Linked DNA regions of Homo sapiens: regions 1 and 3 are each linked to region 2. Evidence: promoter capture Hi-C in 16 types of primary human blood cells and fetal thymus (Javierre and others, 2016). All regions are on one chromosome and are shown on one strand. Each heading gives the region's core, a stretch centred on a gene start or on the middle of the fragment in contact. The rest is flanking DNA. Distances are from core to core; before and after follow the strand shown. Region 1 has its middle 25 kb from the start of MIR544B. Region 2 holds the start of ITGB5 (integrin subunit beta 5). Region 3 holds the start of UMPS (uridine monophosphate synthetase).

Evidence for each region. The method cuts DNA at HindIII sites, captures the fragments that hold promoters and counts their contacts. A CHiCAGO score of 5 or more calls a contact.
Region 1: a contact is called between a fragment that was not itself captured here and the fragment with the promoter of ITGB5 in region 2, in 14 of 17 cell types (megakaryocytes, endothelial precursors, M2 macrophages and 11 more). The highest score is 12.9, in megakaryocytes.
Region 3: a contact is called between the fragment with the promoter of UMPS here and the fragment with the promoter of ITGB5 in region 2, in 4 of 17 cell types (non-activated CD4 T cells, monocytes, naive CD8 T cells and 1 more). The highest score is 7.0, in non-activated CD4 T cells.

Annotation. Positions count from the first base shown.
Region 1 is chr3:124,755,370-124,759,731 of GRCh38, reverse strand. No RefSeq gene overlaps it. Among named protein-coding and RNA genes, the nearest start is that of MIR544B, 25 kb to the right of the region's middle. RefSeq lists enhancers at 1-166, 1,717-2,686. The HindIII fragment of the contact is 2,142 bases long and covers 586-2,727 here.
Region 2 is chr3:124,885,115-124,889,604 of GRCh38, reverse strand. ITGB5 (integrin subunit beta 5) reads left to right here and starts at 2,240. Exons shown (of 15, transcript NM_002213.5): 1 at 2,240-2,674. The coding sequence starts at 2,605. RefSeq lists enhancers at 1-864, 865-1,747, 3,516-4,400 and silencers at 1,862-2,301, 2,762-2,851. The HindIII fragment of the contact is 6,734 bases long and covers 1-4,490 here.
Region 3 is chr3:124,728,303-124,733,116 of GRCh38, reverse strand. It overlaps UMPS (uridine monophosphate synthetase), which reads right to left and starts at 2,665. Exons shown (of 6, transcript NM_000373.4): 1 at 2,490-2,665. The coding sequence starts at 2,645. It overlaps MIR544B (microRNA 544b), which reads right to left and starts at 678; the gene lies at 601-678. RefSeq lists enhancers at 2,586-2,995, 2,408-3,007. The HindIII fragment of the contact is 5,140 bases long and covers 1-4,362 here.

The DNA of each region.
Region 1 (4,362 bases), core at 407-2,906, 130 kb after region 2:
GAATGTCAGGAAGTCCATCTCTCCCCATGACTGATGCTTCCTTCTGTCATACAATGGGGCCTGTATAATAGGTTTGGTATCTTGATGGTTAGGAAGCTGGGAACTGAATGCATTTAGTGGACCAGAGACTGTTCATAACATGGGGACAAGAGAAAAAGAGGCTCGGGTTCTTAGTGCCACCCCTTTTCCTCTCAACCCAACCCCACTGCCCCCTCCATTAACAACCCCCATCCTCTTCCTACCTTCCCCCTCCACACGTCCTGATCCTTCTGATAGATACCCAGCTGCATAACGTCTTCACTTTAAGATGCCTCGAATTCTTGGTGGAAAAAGGCAAGCTCTAAACAGCAAGGGGCAACCCATCAGGGGCAGCCACCTCACTGACCTGCTACAGTAGGAGTTCCTGACCCTTTTGGGTCATGGGCTGCTTTGACATTCTGGTGAATGCTACAGACACCCTTGTTAGAACAATGCCTATAAATGTGTAACAAAGAAGATGCTAAAAAGTCCAATCCTATTTCTCAGGGTTATCATCTCAGTTTGATTTCAAAAACACCCTCCCTGGAAGACACATCATTGAAAGCTTCATTGGTCCCACCCACATAGAATATCAGATCCCTGTGACTGAAAGCAAACTCCTCATTTGATCCTCACAACTACCCCACAAATACCACATTCAGGGAAGGTATTTCCCCATTTTACAAAAGGGGAGATTGAGAACAGTCACACCTTGAGTGACAGTTGGTGAGACCCAAGCTCAAGAATCCCTTCTCTAGAGTCCTCTGCCCTGCACCTGCTCCTGGAAGAAGTCTGTCTCTTCTTATCCCAGAATTCTGCCGCATGATTGGGGAGTCATCTGAGTCTCTGTCTTGGGGGCATACATCTCTACTGAAATAAAGTGAAGTGCTCTAAGAGCAGACTGATACATTATAAAATGTCTCTCCTTCCTCCTTGAATCTTTCTCTTTTGTCCTCATCACATGAGCAGTCTCTGGTACACACATGTGGAGGCCAAGGCAACTCCATCTTGGAAGTGAATCTGCCATGTTGACTTCTGATTAATTCCTGTTCTGGAAAGCTCTCTAAGATTTCCAGTTTATCTATTGTTCCTTGTGTAAGAGTAGGTACTAACTAAACAACCTTGATGTTATTGTATTTACCACAAGTTCTGCCCTTAAGCCATTGTCCTACACACCCCTTCTTTTCACATCCATCTCTTCCCTGTGGTCTGTAGCCCTAGGTTTAGGGGATAATGGTTCAGGGATCCAACAACTTGTCTCACCACTGCCCAAGAGACAGACATAGCTTCTGTTCTTAAGTCCCTATTAAATATTTCTTTCTGAGAAACTGGGTTTGTCAGGCTCTCTCTTTGACTTCTCAGCTTCCTCAGACTTTGAGGGGTAGGTGTGCACAGGCCTGCCAATGCAGAACAACACACGTTAACAAAAACCCCAGGAACTGTTCTATTTTTTTAAATGAAGGAAGATGACAACTGACACAAATGTCATGTTTCCTCGCACAGAAGTTCAATCCTTCAAAGACTCCTTTCTGTCAGGCCTCTGAGCCCAAGCCAAGCCATCGCATCCCCTTGTGACTTGCACGTATACGCCCAGATGGCCTGAAGTAACTGAAGAATCACAAAAGAAGTGAAAAGGCCCTGCCCCGCCTTAACTGATGACATTCCACCATTGTAATTTGTTCCTGCCCCATCTTAACTGAGTGATTAACCCTGTGAATTTCCTTCTCCTGGCTCAGAAGCTCCCCTACTGAGCACCTTGTGAACCCCGCCCCTGCCCACCAGAGAACAACCCCCTTTGACTGTAATTTTCCATTACCTTCCCAAATCCTATAAAACGGCCGCATCTCCCTTCGCTGACTCTCTTTTCGGACTCAGCCCGCCTGCACCCAAGTGAAATAAACAGCCATGTTGCTCACACAAAGCCTGTCTGGTTGTCTCTTCACATGGACTCGAGTGAAATTTGGTGCCGTGACTCGGATCGGGGGACCTCCCTTGGGAGATCAATCCCCTGTCCTCCTGTTCTTTGCTCCGTGAAAAAGATCCACCTACGACCTCAGGTCCTCAGACCGACCAGCCCAGGAAACATCTCACCAATTTCAAATCCGCTAAGCGGCCACTTTTTACTCTCTCCTCCAACCTCCCTCACTATCCCTCAACCTCTTTCTCCTTTCAATCTTGGCGGCACACTTCAATCTCTCCCTTCTCTTAATTTCAATTCCTTTCATTTTCTGGTAGAGACAAAGGAGACAGGTTTTATCCGTGGACCCAAAACTCCGGCACCGGTCATGGACTGGGAAGGCAGCCTTCCCTTGGTGTTTAATCACTGCAGGGACGCTCTCTGATTATACACTCACGTTTCAAGTGTGTCAGACCACGCAGGGACGCCTGCCTTGGTCCTTCACCCTTAGTGGCAAGTCCCGCTTTTCTGGGGCAGGGGCAAGTACCCCTCAACCCCTTCCCCTTCATCCTTAGCGGCAAGTCCCGCTTTCCTAGGGGGTAAGAACCCCCCAATCGCTTATTTCCGCACCCCAACCTCTTATCTCTGTGCCCCAATCCCTTATTTCTGCACCCTGACCTCTTATCTCTGTGCCCCAATCCCTTATTTCCGTGCCCCAACCCCTTCTCTGCTTCTGGAGGGCAAGAACCCCCCACCCCTTCTCCGTGTCTCTACTCTTTTCTCTGGGCTTGCCTCTTCACTATAGGTAAGCTTCCACCTTCCATTCCTCCTTCTTCTCCCTTAGCCTGTGTTCTCAAAACCTTAAAACCTCTTCAACTCACACCTGACCTAAAACCTAAATGCCTTATTTTCTTCTGCAATGCCGCTTGACCCCAATACAAACTCGACAGTAGTTCCAAATAGCCAGAAAATGGCACTTTCAATTTTTCCATCCTACAAGATCTAAATAGTTCTTGTCGTAAAATGGGCATATGGTCTGAGATGCCTGACGTCCAGGCATTCTTTTACACATCAGTCCCTTCCTAGTCTCTGTGCCCAGTGCAACTCGTCCCAAATCTTCCTTCTTTCCCTCCCGCCTGTCCCCTCAGTCCCAACCCCAAGCGTCGCTGAGTCTTTCTAATCTTCCTTTTCTACAGACCCATCTGACCTCTCCCCTCCTCGCCAGCCCAAGCTAGGCCCCAATTCTTCCTCAGCCTCCGCTCCTCCACCCTATAATCTTTTTATCGCCTCCCCTCCTCACACCTGGTCCGGCTTACAGTTTCATTCCGTGACTAGCCCTCCCCCACCTGCCCAGCAATTTACTCTTAAAAAGGTGGCTGGAGCTGAAGGCATAGTCAAGGTTAATGCTCCTTTTTCTTTATCCCAAATCAGACAGCGTTTAGGCTCTTTTTCATCAAATATAAAAATCCAGCCCAGTTCATGGCTCGTTTGGCAGCAACCCTGAGATGCTTTACAGCCCTAGACCCTAAAAGGTCAAAAGGCCGCCTTATTCTCAATATACATTGTATTACCCAATCTGCTCCCAACATTAAATAAAACTCCAAAAATTAAATTCCGGCCCTCAAACCCCACAACAGGACTTAATTAGCCTCATCTTCAAGGTGTGCAATAACAGAAAAAAGTTGCAATTCCTTGCCTCCACTGTGAGACAAACCCCAGCCACATCTCCAGCACAAAAGAACTTCCAAACGCCTGAACCGTAGCAGCCAGGCGTTCCTCCAGAACCTCCTCCCCCAGGAGCTTGCTACACGTACCAGAAATCTGGCCACTGGGCCAAGGAATGCCCGCAGCCCGGGATTCCTCCTAAGCCGCGTCCCATCTGTGTGGGACCCCACTGAAAATCGGACTGTTCAACTCACCTGGCAGCCACTCCCAGAGCCTCTGGAACTCTGGCCCAAGGTTCTCTGACTGACTCCTTCTTGGCTTACCGGCTGAAGACTGATGCTGCCTGATTGCCTCAGAAGCCCCGTAGACCATCACGGACGCCGAGCTTTAGGTAACTCTCACAGTGGAGGGTAAGTCCGTCCCCTTCTTAATCAATATGGAGGCTACCCACTCCACATTACCTTCTTTTCAAGGGCCTGTTTCCCTTGTCTCCATAACTGTTGTGGGTATTGACAGCCAGGCTTCTAAACCTCTTAAAACTCCCCAACTCTGGTGCCAATTTAGACAACACTCTTTTATGCACTCTTTTTTAGTTATCTCCACCTGCCCAGTTCCCTTATTAGGCCGAGATATTTTAACCAAATTATCTGCTTCCCTGACTATTCCTGGACTACAGCCACATCTCATTGCCGCCCTTCTCCCCAACCCAAAGCCTCCTTCGAGTCTTCCTCTCATATCCCCCCACCTTAACCCACAAGTATAGGACATCTCTACTCCTTCCC
Region 2 (4,490 bases), core at 991-3,490:
CATCAAAACAAACATGAGGATATTATAGAATATGTTAACCCCAAATATCTGAGACCAGTCTCAGTCAATTTAGAAAGTTTATTTTGCCAAGGTTAAGGATGTGCCAGTGACGGGAAGTCCTGACAATATGTACCCAAGGTGGTCGGGGTTACAGTGTGCTTTTATACGTTTTAGGGAGACATGAGACATCAATCAATATGTGTAAGACGTACATTGGTTTGGTTTTGTAAGGCAGGACAACTTGAAGTGGGGGCTTCCAGGTTAGAAGCAGATAAGAGACAAAAGGTTGCATTCTTTTGGGTCCTTGATCAGCCTTCCACTGAATACACAATTTAGTCTGGCTCAGTGAATCTGCATTTTTACATAAACAATAGGCCAGAGGGAGCAATCAGGTATTCATTTGTCTCAGGTGAGCCTCAGAGGGATGACTTTGAGTTCTGTCTGTCCTTTGTCCAAAAGGAATTTCCTGTGGGTAAATTGTGAGGGAGGTATGTAGCTTCTTAGCTATCTTAATTAGGCATAAAATGGGAGGCAGGTTTGCCTGACACGGTTCCCAGCTTGATTTTTCTCCTGGCTTAGTGATTTGGGGGCCCTGAGATTTATTTTCCTTTCACAAATACTATAAAGGAGCTTGCTATGGACTGCTGCATCTTTGCCCCCAGGCACACTATATTGTACTTCAAGAAGTTTACTTCCTCAGGCATTGAGGCACCACCTTGTTAGAGTTTGGGAGGAGGCCAAGAAATAAAGGTTAACATCCAAACTCCTTGAGCTGGGCAGTTAGGACAGTTTTCCACTGGGCCCTCCAAGCCATTCTTCCACCAGGTCCCTGGCCTGCAAAGGTGAGACCCCTTTGTTCTTTCCCCCTTACTGCTTCAGTTTTAGCCAAGCCATGCTGCACTTTTGAACGAGGCATCCTAGCTGTCACTTCCTCCAGCAGTTAACCCCTCTGTCCCTCGGTTCCTCAACTGGATAACAGTAGGGTTGTCGGAGGATGAAATGAGTTAATATGGGTAAAGGACTTAGAACAGTGCCTGGCTGGCAGTGTGCTCTCTGTACTTGGTAGGTATTCTATCGTTATTTTCCCCTACCTGAATGTCGCCTCTTCTCTTGCCTATCAACCACTCCACTCTAAACGCACTTGTAGCGAATCCAAGCCCAAGGCATCCTTTCCTGCACCATCTGAGGAAGACCCCACCCCACTCTTTATTGGCTAGTTCAGATCCAGCTTATATGTAAATGATAAGATGAAAGCCTGAGCATATGTTTTTGAGTCTATCAGTTTGATCATGGAAACTGACAGATTATCAGTAAGGACAACGAAATATAGCGGCATATTGGCCAGTCTCAAATCCTTGAAAGGTGCAAAAGTTAAAAAGTGAAAAGTGGGCCGGGCACGGTGGCTCGCACCTGTAATCTCAGCACTTTAGGAGGCAGACACAGGAGGAATGCTTGAGCCCAGGAGTTCAAGACTAACCTGAGCAACACAGCGAGACCCCCATCTCTACAAAACATGTAAAAATTGTCCGGGTGTGGTGGCGCGCGCCTGTAGTCCCAGTTACTCAGGAGGCTAAGGTGGAGGAACCTTTGAGCCCAGGAGGTCCAGGCTGCAGTGAGCCAAGACTGGGCCAGTGCACTCCAGCCTGAGTGAGAGCAAGACGCTGTCTCAAAAAAAAAAAAAAAAGAAAAGAAAAAGAAATGTAGGTTTTACTTGTGCCTCCACGCCCCACCACGCCCTCCCTTGCTCATCCAGAAGTCGCTTTGCGGTTCCACGCGCGGGCGTCTACGTCCCATCTCAGGCCGCCGGCAGTGAGGCTTTGGGAGGATGAGGCGGTACCGGCACGACCCCCGTACCTGCTCTCCCTCTCGCAGTCTAGCAACCGCCTTTGGCCCAAGTAATCTCGGCTCGCCTAATACAGCGTGCCCCGCCCCTTTCCCGTGGCGACGGGCGGCTAAGCAACGGGAGCGGGCTCTACTCAGTGGTTTCGAGCCCCCCACGCCCCAAGTGAGTCGCAAGCGACTTCCACCTGGGCCCGTAGGGCCTCCGCGTCCCGGGCCGGTCCCCGCACAGGGCGGAGCTGGCCCGGCCCGGAGCTCGCCCCGCCCCGCCTCACCGTAAGCTGACCGTGTGGCGGCCGGGCGAGGGCCTGGCAGGGGAGAGAAGGGGAGGAGAAAGGAGAGGAGGAAAGTGGAGCCTGGCGGGCCGGAGGGAGGAAGGGAAGGGGCGGAGGCCAGGGGCAGAGTGTGCCGGCGCGCGGGGGAGTCTCGGCGCTGGGCGCGTCTCGGAGCCCAAGTCGCGGCCGCCGAGCGGAGCCAGCCCCTCCCCTACCCGGAGCAGCCCGCTGGGGCCGTCCCGAGCGGCGACACACTAGGAGTCCCGGCCGGCCAGCCAGGGCAGCCGCGGTCCCGGGACTCGGCCGTGAGTGCTGCGGGACGGATGGTGGCGGCGGGGCGCGGGCCAGCGCGGGCGCCGTGAGCCGGAGCTGCGCGCGGGGCATGCGGCTGCGGCCCCCGGCCCTCGGCCCCCGCGCTCCGGCCCCAGCCCCGGCCGCCGGCCCCCGCGGAGTGCAGCGACCGCGCCGCCGCTGAGGGAGGCGCCCCACCATGCCGCGGGCCCCGGCGCCGCTGTACGCCTGCCTCCTGGGGCTCTGCGCGCTCCTGCCCCGGCTCGCAGGTAAGCCGCGCCGCCCACGGCGCCCAGAGAAACTTTGTCGCACACTCAGCCGCGGGCGGGCGTCTCGGAGGGGCGGGGAGCGCAGGCGGTGCCTGAGGGCGGAGGGCGCCTTCGGGGCACTCCCTGGTGGGCCAGTCGCTGGGGGACAGCCCCGCGGGGCGCTCCCCGCGCGCAGCCCCGCCGGGCTGTCGTGAGTCTCCTGTTCCCTCCCGGGCTGAGGAGGAGCTTCCCTTCCTGTGTAAACAGGCTGGCCGGCCTGCTGACCTAGCCCGCCAGGGCCCGCGCCCAGGGCACGGGGAGGACCGCCGCCAGCCCTGCCTTGGGGCCCGGGCTCTCCGTTGGCGGGCACAAAGCGGTCCTTGTGGCCGGCCGGGAGCGGGCGGGCTGCTGGGGGGATGCCGTCGGTGCCCTGTTCCCGGAGAAGCAAGGGAGTCTCGAAACCCCAGCCAAAGCCCGGGGCCACCTCCACTCCGGAGGGCTCGCCTCCTGGAACAGCGGGTGCACAGGGCCCACAGCGAATCCTGGAGTTCGCTGCGCCTAGGCTAGCCGCCTGCCTTTGAAGATGCAGCCCCCACCCTCCCCGCCCCCCGCCTGCTTCCTCCTCGCCTAGGCCACCGCAAACCCGAGGGGGCACCCGCGTCCCAAACCACAGCCCCACCTGGGACTTCCCTATTAAATTCCTTCTGCCCGACTTTATCCCGCGATTTGCACACGCTCGGAGCCTCACACTCCCCTAACTGTGGAGGATTCTGGAGCAGAGGACAGGGGCTGTGGAGATTGCCTTAGCCCGACGCTGCGGTGGGCTGGCAGCGTTGCAAGGATCCCTCGGTTACCTGCTCTAACTTTTCAGAGTTGGGAGATGATTGGACGTGGTAGTTTGGAGGCCCTCGAGGAAGGATGCACTTGTTTGGGATGCGGATTTTCTCCTTTCTTTTAGGAAATAATAGTGCTCTATTAACTTTCAAGCCGGAGATACTTGATTGCTCTTGTGAGCCAAGTGGTTGCCTGGCTGCCCGAAGGGAGGACTGTTCCCCCACGGTGTCTCATTTACATGAAGGCAGTGGAGGTTTAGGTTTAAGAGCGGAGGAGGGGTCTGAGCAAACAATAACTTCGTTCAGACCCTAATTCAAACTTAATACTGTAGCAAGGTTTTTGGTTTTTGTTTTAAATGGGAAAATAATCACTCCAGAGCTTGGAGAGTAGATGAGTGGATTCCAAACACCCATCCGGCAGCCAGTGCCCATCACGGATATTTTCATGGGTCCCTAGGGAAAGCGAGGAGCAGGAAGATGTAGCCTGCATCACACAGGAATGTATTGTTGTCAACGCTCCCCTGCTCCACAAGGACTTTCCTTTAGTTTGAAATTAGGCACTTTTTCTTTTTTTGGTGGGAACATTTTCTTTTAATACTTCTTAATAATATTAGTAGTTTTTAATTTTGGCAAAATAAGAAAATCTGACAACCCTATGTTAAGCTCCCCTTCTCTTTTTCTGTTTGTTTCTTTTGTTTTGTTTTTAAATCTTAGTTTTCTTTGAAATCCAAAAGTTCAGAAACTGCCAAAGGAGATGGCTTTTAAGTTCCTTTCCAGCTTGACATTCTGTAATTCTGACAAACAGAATTATAATAATAATTTCTAGTTGCAAATAATTTTTTTTTTTTGAGTCAGAGTTTCAGTCTTGTAGCCCAGGCTGGAGTGCAGTGGTGCCATCTCGGCTCACTGCAACCTCCACCTCCCAGGTTCAAGCAATTCTCCTGGCTTAGCCTCCCAAGTAGCAATGATTACAGGCGCTGCGACCATGCCCGGCTAATTTTTGT
Region 3 (4,814 bases), core at 1,416-3,915, 160 kb after region 2:
TATATTGCTTTTTGGGGTGTAAATACTGAGAAATTCTATTCGCATAAGATGTGAAAAGAAGTTTTGTTATACCCAAGTCTCTCCATGTTTTGAACTCCTCCCCAGTTAATCACCAAAATACACACACACACACACACACACACACACACCATGATCTAGTTATCAAAAAACTTTTTCTGTCATTTATCAGCTGGCTTATTAAAATAAATCAATTTTTCCCTAGAAAATCCTTAGTAATTCTCCACATTGCTAAGATACACCATAGCAAGATTCTGGATGGTGAGAAGTTAATGGTCCAAAGTACCGCAACCTTAATAGTCCAACCTATCTTCAATACTTTTTACAATAACCACACAAAGTGGTCCCTAGTGAACATAAACCCTTAAGTGGGCTGAGGAAACTTATATGTCTTCTTGATAGAACTTTCTGCAATGATGGAAATGTTCTCTATCTTTGCAGTCCAATATGATAGCCACTGGCCATATATGACTATTTAAACTTAAAAATTCATAATGCTCAATAGTAACACGTGGCTAGTAGCAAACTGTATTGGAAAGCATATTTACGGCCCTCTACTCAGTGTGGTCTGCAGTTTCAGCTGGCACTTTGTTAGAAATGCACAACCTCAGGTCTAGTCTCAGAGCTACAGAAATGGATTCTGCATTTTAACAAAATTCCCAGGTAATTCATATATACTCAAAGTTGAGAAGCACTGTATTAGAAACCTCTAATTTGTACAAAAATTTTCCTTATATTGACTAAAAACCTGCTTTCCCAATATGTCCACCTTCTAGTCTTAATTATTGCTTCTGGCCGCACAGTGCAAAATTCAACTCCCCTTTCCAAACAGCCCTTCCAAGTGTGGACCTAACAGGAAGAGGCTGAGGCAAAATTAATATGAGTAGTTGCCCTGACTATAGGCTTCGATTACAGTAGTTACAAGTGGATTTTTAAAGCAAAAGAAGGGGCAGTTCCTATATTCACCAAGAATTTGCATTGAAATAACAGGAGGTAGCCCGGGGGTGGCACCAGGCATTTGTAGTCCCAGCTACTTGGGAAGCCGCCAAGGCAAGAGGATCTTTTGAGGCCAGGAGTTTGAGACGAGCCTGGGCAGTATGGTGAGACCTCCTCTCTACAAAAAAAAAAAATTTTTAATTTGGTGGGCATGATGGCACATGCCTGTAGTTCCAGCTACTCAGAGGTTGAGGTAAGAGGATCTCTTTTTTTTTTTTTTTTCTGAGACAGTCTCCCTCTGTTGCCCAGGCTGGAGTGCAGTGGCTCAATTTCGGCTAACTGCAACCTCCTGATTCTTCTGCCTCAGCCTCCTGAGTAGCTGGGATTACAGGTGTGCACCACCATGCCCAGCTAATTTTTGCATTTTCAGTAGAGACAGGGTTTCACCATGTTGGCCAGGCTGGTCTCGAACTCCAGACCTTAAGTGATCCACCCGCCTCAGCCTCCCAAAGAAAGCCTCCCAAAGTTGGGACTACAGGCATGAGCCCCTGTGCTCACCCGAGGCAAGAAGATCTCTTAAGCCCAGGAGTTCCAGGCTGCAGTGAGCTATGATCACAGAGCTGCACTCCAGCCTGGGTGACGTAAGAGAGATCCCATCTAAAAAATAAATAAATAAAATAATAACACAAGCGATTGATTAGCTATACATTGTTCTTTGTATCACACATTCCAGGTACATTAAGATAATGGGAGAGGCAGCTAGTCAGGGACAAAATTCCTTTAAATAATTGTCCCGGGGCTGCATAGGGGAGTATGGTTGAAGTCTCTCTGGGCTCTGATAAATTTTGTATACATCACAGAGTTCTGGTTGTTCTATTTTCCTTTTCTCACCAGTAATTTCCCAGCTACTGAATTCTCTGCCTACCCACGTTTTCCCGGTCTATTTGTTTGTTTTTTGAGGGCAGGGTCTCACTTGTCGCCCAGGCTGGAGTGCAGTGGCGCAATGACAGCTCATTGCAGCCTTGACCTCCCAGGCTCAGGTGATCCTCCCACCTCAGCGTCCCAGGCGTGCGCCACCACACCCAGCTAATTTTTTGTAGAGACGGGGTCTCGTCATGTTGCCCAGGCTGGTCTCGAACTCCTGGGGCTCAGGTGATCTGCCCACTTAGGCATCCCAAAGTGCTGGTATTACTCTCATGAGGCACCACGCCCGGCCGCAAGTCTAATTTTCTTAAAGAGTTAAATATACAGAATTCATTCAAGTGTGCTTCAGTGCCAGAAAGCGTTCCAAACTGGGTTTCCCGACTTTTGCAAAACACGTGTCTAAGCGTGTGGGTGAAAGAACAGACGACTCTCGAGGAGCCCAACCCCTGGCCTCTGTGCTTCTCATGCTTACTCCCCAAACCAAGAGTAGGGTCGGTCTGCCTGCTTGGCTCTTTTGCTCTCACTCACGGCCCAACTCCTGTCACCCTCTTCCATTTCCTTGTCCTCCTTCCCGCCACCAAGCCCTGTCCTTTCCCTTCCTAGGCCAGCACCTGACTCAGAAGACGCGGTCGAGACACGATGCCCCGCAGATCGATGTAGATGGGGGAGGAAAGCCCGCTCTTCAGCACGAAGTCCCCAAACTTGAAAGCCTGCACGTCGTACAGACCCGTCACCAATGGCCCCAAAGCTGCACGAGCGACCGCCATTGTCGCGCGCTGCCTGTTTGCTTCAAATTCCCAGGCGCCCCGGGCCTCCGGCGCCCCGATGACGTCACCCGCGAAGTCCCGCCTCTTCCGCCTGCCTCGTCTGCAGCTTTCCCGGCTTGCTGCACCCGTGGGTTTCCCCGGGCTCAAGGGTCAGGTGGATGGTAGCGAACCTAGCGCCAGTTTGTGCTTCTCCTGGTTTCTTCTGGATGGGGTCGCTGGGGTTCAAAGCCCAGAACAGCTAGATTGACTGTAGGATCATGAAGTCCCACCTTTCATGAGAGTTTGCATAAATCCTGTCCATTTTTTAATAGCCAATGCCTTCTCGACTAGTTCTCTTAATTATCTCTACTCCTTGGCCTAACATGTTATATTTGCTAGTTATTAGCCAAGATTTACCCCCCATGTTTCTCCAAATAGAATATAAGTTATCAAAGACAGGGACCTTTACTCAATTCTTTTATTAACTTCATAGCATCTAGTACGTGACAGTTCCATAGCAGTTTGCACATAGGAATATATAGCACTTAGATCATTACAGTATTCATTACCTCTTTTGTCTGTACTCTGCTTCCTGGAGGAGTACTTTTTTATTTCCTTTGGCGTACCTCAAATGCTTAGGTAATAGGTGTAGAAAAGGTAAGGGAGGGAAGGAGGAGAGTTAGAAGACGGTTAATTGATTGGTATCAGGGTTATCCAGGAGGATAATATTGCTAGACAATCTGAAAATCCAAACATATTTGGTCTTTACAAATAAATCCCTTAAAGAAATAATCAATAAATAATCTGTACAAATAAATCCCTTCTCCATTGTGTATATAAGGCAATACTTTATTCTAGCTTAAGGAAAATAACCCTTAAATTCACATAAAGAATGAAACCTTGTCATTTGCAGCAAGGTGGATGAACCTGAAGGACATTATGTTAGTGAAACAAGCCAGGAACAGGAAGATAAATACCAAATGTTCTCGCTCATATGCAGAAGCTAAAAAAGTTGATCTCATGGAGCTAGAGAATAAAATAGTAATCACTAGAGGCTGGGAAGGGTAGGGGGTGGTTAAAGGACACAAATTACAGCTAGATAGGAGGAATAAGTCCTAGTGTTCCATTGCACTGTAGGGTGACTGTAGTCAATAATAATTTACTATATATTTTAAAATAGCTAGAAGAGGGGCGTTTGAATGTTCCCAACACAAAGAAAGGATAAATATTTAAGGTGAGGAATATATGAATTACTCTGATTTGATCACTGTACATTGTGTGTATTGAAATAGCACTATGTACCCAATAAATGTGTACGATATCATGTGTCAACTATAACAAATACTTTTTTAAAAAAGAGGAACAGATAAGGCATAGCTGTATAGTGCACTACAAAGAACATGAAGTTTCAAACCAAAACATTTGGATTTTAGTCCCATTCTACTTACTGGCTGAGTGATCTTTGGCAATGCATTTTGAGCTATATGAGTCTCAATTTTCTCAAAAATAGAATGAAGAAGCCGGGCGCGGTGGCTCACGCCTGTAATCCCAGCACTTTGGGAGGCTGAGGCGGGCGGATCACGAGGTCAGGAGATCAAGACCATCTTGGCTAACATGGTGAAACCCCGTCTCTACTAAAAATACAAAAAAATTAGCTGGGCATGGTGGTAGGCGCCTGTAGTCCCAGCTACTCGGGAGGCTGAGGCAGGAGAATGGTGTGAACCCGGGAGGCAAAGCTTGCAGTGAGCCGAGATCGCATCACTGCACTCCAGGCTGGGCGAAAGAGCCAGACTGCGCTCAAAAAAAAAAAAAAAGAATGAAGATAATAATATTAACTTTCTCCAAAAATCACTATGAAGATTCAATAAGATAGTTCACTCAAAAACACTTGATAAAAAGTTGGTAGAGCTGAGTGTGGTGGCTCATGCCTGTAATCCCAGTACTTTGGGAGGCCGAGGGAAGTGGATCACCTGAGGTTGAGAGTTCGAGACCAGCCCAGTCAACATGATGAAACCCCGTCTCTACCAAAAAATACAAAAATTAGCCGGGCATAGTAGCACATGCCTATAGTCCCAGCTACTTGGGAGGCTGAGGCAGGAGAATTGCTTGAACCCCGAGGGGGTGGAGGTTGCAGTGAGCCAAGATCATGCCACTACACTCCAGCCTGGGCAACAGAGACTCTGTCTCAAC